Regions from separate parts of the Homo sapiens genome. Here region 2 is linked to region 1. The links are contacts of gene promoters, found by promoter capture Hi-C in blood cells and fetal thymus (Javierre and others, 2016). All regions are on one chromosome and are shown on one strand. The core of a region is centred on a gene start or on the middle of the fragment in contact, and the rest is flanking DNA. Distances in the headings are between cores, read along the strand shown. Region 1 holds the start of GNG11 (G protein subunit gamma 11). Region 2 overlaps LOC130890646 (a long non-coding RNA gene).

Evidence for each region. The method cuts DNA at HindIII sites, captures the fragments that hold promoters and counts their contacts. A CHiCAGO score of 5 or more calls a contact.
Region 2: a fragment that was not itself captured here is called in contact with the fragment with the promoter of GNG11 in region 1 in 1 of 17 cell types (endothelial precursors); the score reaches 5.0 in endothelial precursors.

The regions. Positions count from the first base shown.
Region 1 is chr7:93,919,847-93,923,384 of GRCh38, forward strand. It overlaps GNG11 (G protein subunit gamma 11), which reads left to right and starts at 1,889. Exons shown (of 2, transcript NM_004126.4): 1 at 1,889-2,387. The coding sequence starts at 2,292. All of the region lies in intron 1 of LOC105375402 (a long non-coding RNA gene), which reads right to left. RefSeq lists an enhancer at 1,491-2,126. The HindIII fragment of the contact is 4,145 bases long and covers 1,563-3,538 here.
Region 2 is chr7:94,040,383-94,043,920 of GRCh38, forward strand. All of the region lies in intron 1 of LOC130890646 (a long non-coding RNA gene), which reads left to right. Among named protein-coding and RNA genes, the nearest start is that of BET1, 38 kb to the left of the region's middle. The HindIII fragment of the contact is 558 bases long and covers 1,313-1,870 here.

The DNA.
Region 1 (3,538 bases), core at 639-3,138:
CCTCTAAGCAACTAGATGATTTCATGGGAAAGAAACTTCAAAGCCAAAATAATTATATTTTTATGACTTAGAACAAACACACATTAACAAAAAATTAGTCAGGCGTGGTAGCGGGCGCCTGTAGTCCCAGCTCCTCCGGAGGCTCAGGCGGGAGAATGGCGTGAACCCGGGAGGCGGAGCTTGCAGTGAGCGGAGATCGTGCCAGTCACTCCAGCCTGGGCGACAGAGCGAGACTCCGTCTCAAAAAAAAAAAAACAAAAAAACAAAAAAACAAAAAAAAGAACAAAAACACAATAATTTATTTAACCAATTTATTTAACTTAGGTGCTGAACCTATTTAATTTAGGCCACATTCACGTTGATTACTTTCACTAATTTAAGGTATTTTTGACCAACCTTTTAAATTTAAGTAATAGAAAATTTTAAAAATGAATTAGTGCACAAGACAGATATGGACATTTGTCTAGTCTCCCTGCTTATTTACAAGTAAACTTCAGTAGATGCTCTAACTACTCTGAGCTTGGAAAACCCTGGTATTTCAAATATTGAAAGTGAAGCTCTTAAACATTTTCTTTGTGAAAATGATTTATCATATATAGACATACCAACACAATTAGAGACACAACATAGCTTAGCTGATTCACTACTTCCCTGCCTTACTATACATTTTACAAATTAGAAAACCAAAACTAAGAAAAATTAAATGACTTCTTCAGTGATGGCCTGTGGCAGAGCTGCAACTACACGCCAGGAGTATTCATTAAGTGGTTCATTGTTTTTTTCATTCTAATTTATTCATTGAGGTTGAGCGGAGCGTGGTAAGAAACTAGGAACGAACAAAAACTCCTGCTTCCTAAACAGGGAATGGTCATGGGTGTCTTGGGTCAGCTACTCTGAAATATTAAGTTAATATTTCACTTGCCTTTGACTCTGTGAGGCAGGAGGTTATCTCTGGAAAGAAAGAGAAATATCCAACTGCTAGGGAAGGTTTCTTACATTCATGTTTGATTTTTCTTCTACTCTTTTGACCACCATCAACAAGACTTTAGTTACAGTTAAAGGGAAAGTTTTATTGCATGTAAACTTTTTTCACATCGGACACTTTTCCTGGCTTTCCAGAGCAACAGCTAGATAAATAGTGCTTGCCAGAAAGTGGAGAAACTAATACTAAATGAATCCACTGCCTACATCCAGGAAGGTTCAGGAGCCAGGAATTCAAAATCCTTGGTGTCAAGTGTCACCCAAAACTTAGGGTTGGGGAGTGGAGAAAGGCTTTCGGTTAAGAACTCTAAGATTCCTGCTTCTGTCTTCTCTTATATCATCCTTTGATGCACCCCTCTACATAACATTCCCCCGGAAAAATAAAAAAAATACAAACTCTGCTGCTGTTGAGGATGCAGATGATTATTTAATAATAGAAAATGTTCTTGCAACTTGTAAACGATATTCACACCCTGTTGCCCCCTCCTCGCCCAAAATGTATAAACCCATATTAGGCCTCGAACAAGCCGGATGGACACAAATGAGCAGAACACTGGTGGGTATTTCTGGGATTAGGGCTAAGCTTCATTTTCTTTTCAGCCTTTTCTTAAGCGTCCGCATTCTCCACTATGCATTTATTACGTTGGTGCAAAACTAATTGCACCAACCTATATATGTAATTAGAGAAAAGTAATTACTTTTGCAACAACCTATGTATGTAATTAGGGAAAAGCTATATCTAGCATATTTTTAAAACTCTTTGAGAGGTGAAGGGTAGTTATTTCCTGCTGGGTAGTGTACTCCTTTTCCTAGCTTCACAAACAAAACCCGGATGTGACTTGGAAACGGAAAAAAAAAAAGGAGCGGGGGTGCGCGGAGAACACAAAGTAAAACTTCTGCTGTTCCCAGTCCTGCAGCCCCAGCCCAGCCGTCCCCCGCGGGCGTGGCAGGTCCTGAGTCAGGGCCTGTCCGTGGCCAGCATCCCTGCTGGGCGATTGAGCAGCGGGAAGCTGCTTGGACCCAGTCTCAAACTTAACCCTCATCTAGCACCCGGGCAGGCCTCCTGGGTTGCAGGGACTTGAGAAAAGGCAGAGTTCTCAGGTCCTAGGAAGCTGGGGCACGCTGGCGTGACAAGCGTCCCGGAGAAAGCCAAGCCCTCGGGGAGCTGGGGACCGCAGCAGGGCTGCAGTCACATCCTGCGCGGGTGGGCGGCGGGCCAGGCCTTCAGTTGTTTCGGGACGCGCCGAGCTTCGCCGCTCTTCCAGCGGCTCCGCTGCCAGAGCTAGCCCGAGCCCGGTTCTGGGGCGAAAATGCCTGCCCTTCACATCGAAGATTTGCCAGAGAAGGAAAAACTGAAAATGGAAGTTGAGCAGCTTCGCAAAGAAGTGAAGTTGCAGAGACAACAAGTAAGTTGGCTGTTCCGGAATATTTCCTTCTCTGAAATGAAGCAGGGTCCGATTTTTCCTGCTTAGTAACAGTAAAGCAAATAGTTTAGCTTATTTTTCCCCCTTTTTGTAGCTTCTCTTCTCACCACCCTTTGGCAGTGCCTGGGGACTGCCAGCTGATGTGGGGAAATCCTAGGAGGTAGAGGAGGGAGCAAGGATCTGATAAGTAATTTAAGGCCAAATGTCCTAACTTTTAAGATGCCTAGGAAGGGGAAAATAGACAAGAAATCTTGCTTTCCATTAGACAGCTGTTTTTCAAAACTCACTTGTAGGAAAAAAGCGGATAGCTACTTGGTTCTTTGATCTTTTACACTACTAGAAAGGATGATATTTGAAAGAAATTTTCTAAAACCGTATTTTAAAGTCTTACAAGTACATTATTTAATTTTGAATTTCACCAGTGGCCTTCAGTGATATGCAAAGAACAGTCCACCGAAATTTGGGAACAAAATATTAGAATTTCTATATTTATTTGTAAATCTCATCCCTTTATAATTTTCACTTTATGTTTTATTAGTATGCGATTAATACAGTAGTATCTGTACTTATTTATAAATAATTATACATACACTGTGGTGCATATGAAAAATTTTTTTAGTGATCACAATTTTAAAGTTTTAGAGACTATTGATAGAGATTACCATTTCATTGAGAACATATGACCCAGTATTCAATATTCTCCACTGAAACGTCTCGGGAGTTTTATAAGTTTTACTTCAATTTCTTACTGGTCATCAAGACCTTCCTTCAGACACTAATCCCTCTTCCTGTTTTAACTCAATCAGGCATCCTGTAGACTAGGAAAGGTCTTTGAATAGATATTGTTTAAAGATAATTAACCTTTCCTCTTCAGCAAGAAAATTTTGAACTGATCTTATTTATTATGGTTTAGCACTAGAAAAAATTAAGAAAAACAATGGAAATGAAGCGTTATAATATGCTCACTTGCCTTCCTGTTCTAGTTATAATAAATCTGTTAAGGGCAAGAGTCTTCACTGTTGAGTGATGATTAGAAGATGCAGGCATTTTTGTGTTTTACTTTTTACATATTTCTTTTCTCAAATTTAACCTTTCACATCCAAATCCCGGCTCTTCCTAGCTTTTATAATGAG
Region 2 (3,538 bases), core at 342-2,841, 120 kb after region 1:
TGGCTTGTGACAGCACGTGCTCATGTTTGAAACCACAGCTTGCTGAGGCTAGAGTGGGTTTCTGAGGCTTTTGTGTAATGGGCTTTGTTTCATGCTAATAAACACAAAAACTTCTTCTCTATAAACATGTTCCTTATGGACCCCTGAGGCTATAGTGCTGATGAGTTTATTTTTTTAAAGAAAAATAGGATGAACTACAACCACCCAATTAGAGAGACTCAGTCGGATCACTAGAAGCTTTCAGTCCTGGACACAACAGAAGAGGTTTTAAGGGACTCATGCAGGAGAAACCATAATGAGAAAAACACGGAATTTGCTTTTATTCTTAGAAGCAGCTTTGTTTTATCTCTAGGCTCAGAGCTGTGCTGCTGGAACTGAACTCATTTCCCAACAAACTGTTTTTGTTTCTCACTTGTTATGTGAATAACCTCAGAAATGCAGGCATCTTAGTCCCTGCAAGTGCAAAGAGTTTGACGACACAATGAGTAGCTGTGGACAATTTCCAACTCTCACCCGGAAGCCTGTACCTATTGGAAGAGAGTCGCCAAATCCTAGGATGGTTCTGATCCAGGAGCCTCCCTAGGGAAATGTTAACAAAGAGGATGAAACTAAAGAAGTAATTCTCTAGGTACTGCTTTTACCCATGGGCTATTGCCCAGACACTGCCATGTGTGCATTTTTTAAGATTATTTGTGGATGATGGGATCATGGGCAGCTGATGAAGAAAAACATCAGAATAAAAGTTCTAAAGCATAGTAAGCCTCCACCTGTGGAGCCACCCTGATGTGCAGATATATTCTAAAGTTTGAGTCCAAGCTGTTCCAGATCAATGCCATTAAGATTAGGGCTGCATCTCTTCACTGAGCTAGCCAGCTCTGAGATACCACAGCAGAGTTCTGATTACATACATCCCTTCCTTATCTTCCTCTAATTTTTTTTCCTCTGTTGATTCCCCCATTGTTGGCATATCTTATCAAGGTTTGTTTTTCTTTAGGTCGTTATTAAAAATAAGAGAGAAAGATGTACTTGCCTACTCTTAAAGTGGATCTTAAAGCAGATGTGTTTGTTCCATCAACTCATCCTCCGTTCATAGTAGCATATTCAGTACAGATACATTTATTAAACACTAATACCAGCCATATCCTGTACCATGCACTAGGATTCAATAGTGAGCAAAACAGAAACTTAAAACCATAACCAAAAAATCAAAGAAATATAACACTGTAAACTATAATCAGTGGCACAGAGGAGAAGTACAAGCTACAAGAAGAACTTGTAGCTGGGGATCTGATAAAGGCTTATGAGTCACAGAAGCTTTCCTGAGGGATGGTTTTTTTTGGATCAAGACCTGATGAATAAGTAAAAGCAAAAGCAAGATAATTCTGGGCCACAGAAGCAGCAGGTGCAAAGGTCCTGAACCAAAAGGAATTTGGCATATTGGTGGAACTGAAAGCAAGAGAGTGTTGCCAGAAAGCCAAAGATGAGTGGAAGATGACAAAGGCAGGGTTGGGAAGCAGTGGCCACATCAAGTAGGACCAAAGACATTGGGTTTTTAATCTACAAACCAATGAGATACATTTAACGTTTAATAAAAAGAGATATGATCAGATTTGTTTATAAAATATTAAAATAACTGCAGCATGTAGAGCTGATTAAAGAGAGGGTGTGGTGGTTTTAAAGTATGATCACAAATTCTCTTATATTCTTTGTTTCAATAGTTGGAGTATAATTCTTCTCTTGAGTGTGGATGGGTTCAGTGATTCACTCCTAATAAAAACGGACAATGCAGCCCCTACCACATTCTCTTTAATCATTTGTTCTGGAGGAAGCTAGCTGCCCTGTGATGAGAAACTAAAAACTTCTAGCAAGAAGCTTGGAACTCCAACAGCCATGTGATCCAACTAGGGAGCAAATCCTCTAGCCACAGTCAAGCCTTCAGATGATGGTAGCCTCTGTCAACATCTTGACAGACTCCAAGTTAGAACAAACCAGCTTAATGGCTCCTGGCCTCCCGACGTTCAGAAACTGTGTGAGAATATAATTATTTGTTATTTTAAGCAGCTAAATGTTGGAATGATTTGTTGTGCAGCAATAGATACTAAATATAGAAGGTAAAAACAGATATTAGTAGGATGTTTCCACAGCAGCCCAAACAGATAATGATGCCTTAACTTAAAGTGAATGCTACTCAAGTACATCTTCACTTCCTCTTTCTAAGCACACACCATGGGTATCAGATATGACCACTGGAAAGCAGTAGAGGTAGCTTTGAATCCAGGGTTTGCTATTTGATTATAGAGGATCTTGTAGCGCCTCTCTATAGCAAGGGTTGTTTTATTCAAATGATGGAGCCACTAATATTACTTCCCTCTTAGATTACATGAGAGATGCATGTAAAGTCCATAGTAAAGGTGTTAGAGCATAGCAATTGACAGTTTTTATTATTATTATTATTTAGAGTATATCCATATAGATGATAATTTCTCTCTCTGAATCCTGTTCTTTGCTATGAGAATAATCGCCATTAAACACCACAGTATCACTTTCCTTATCAAATTACATTCATGGATTCCCATTACTTTCAAAATACACTTGCAATTTTTGGGCCATATATTAGGGGTTTCTACCTTGAAGTGCCACCTTGCTACCTACGTGAAAGTGAAACTCTGCTCCCTGCAAATTCTTCTTCTCCTTAGTTTATTTTTTCATGGCTTGTGATGTTTGGTTGAGTCACTTAATTTCTATTATCCTTAGTTTTCACACCAATATATTGTACATATTAATAAATACCTACTCCTTCCCACTGTGCAGGGAAAGCATAATAAAAGTTCAATTGTTCATTGTGACAAACTTATCCTATTTACAAGAAGCCTGAGCCATGTATGTTGCACCTCCTGCATACACATACATAAAAATCAAAGAGCCACCAAAGAGCATTACTCTGGAGGTTTTACTAACTTTGAGGAGGCACTTCAGGCGTCAGGCCTCAGGTCTCTACTGGTTTTAACTCACTTTCAGCATATTGAGCCCATCTTCCTCATCTCTAGTTTCCCAAAAGAAGTTTGAGATGTTGATTAATCACTGCTGATTCATTCTCAGTCATGTTTTATTGCTTAACTAACTTCAGGCAGTCTCTTGCCATCCTCAGAACAATCCAAAGCCCTATTGCTCTACATTTAGACACAGAGGATGAAGAGGAAGATTCCTTCATAGGACCAGGCAATAGCAAGTCTACTGACAGCTACTGAGATGACCTCAAATCTCCAAACTAGTCTGACTTCACTAACCAGAGGAACTGGAGAAATGCAGATGTTTGACCCACTTTAAATGCATCTGTCATTTTAAATAGTGCATATTTTTGGTGACTTCTCATTTGTATAGCCCACAGATTGGCTCAAAAGTAGGAATGCATAATTTTTTACTCTCTATGTTCCCAACCGAGATTATTACCCCTGGTAGAATGCCCTTCAGAGACCAGTGGTAGTACCTGAAAATTGTTTATGGGCCTCTTCCTCCCCTCTTCAAGCCTCCTTTAAAA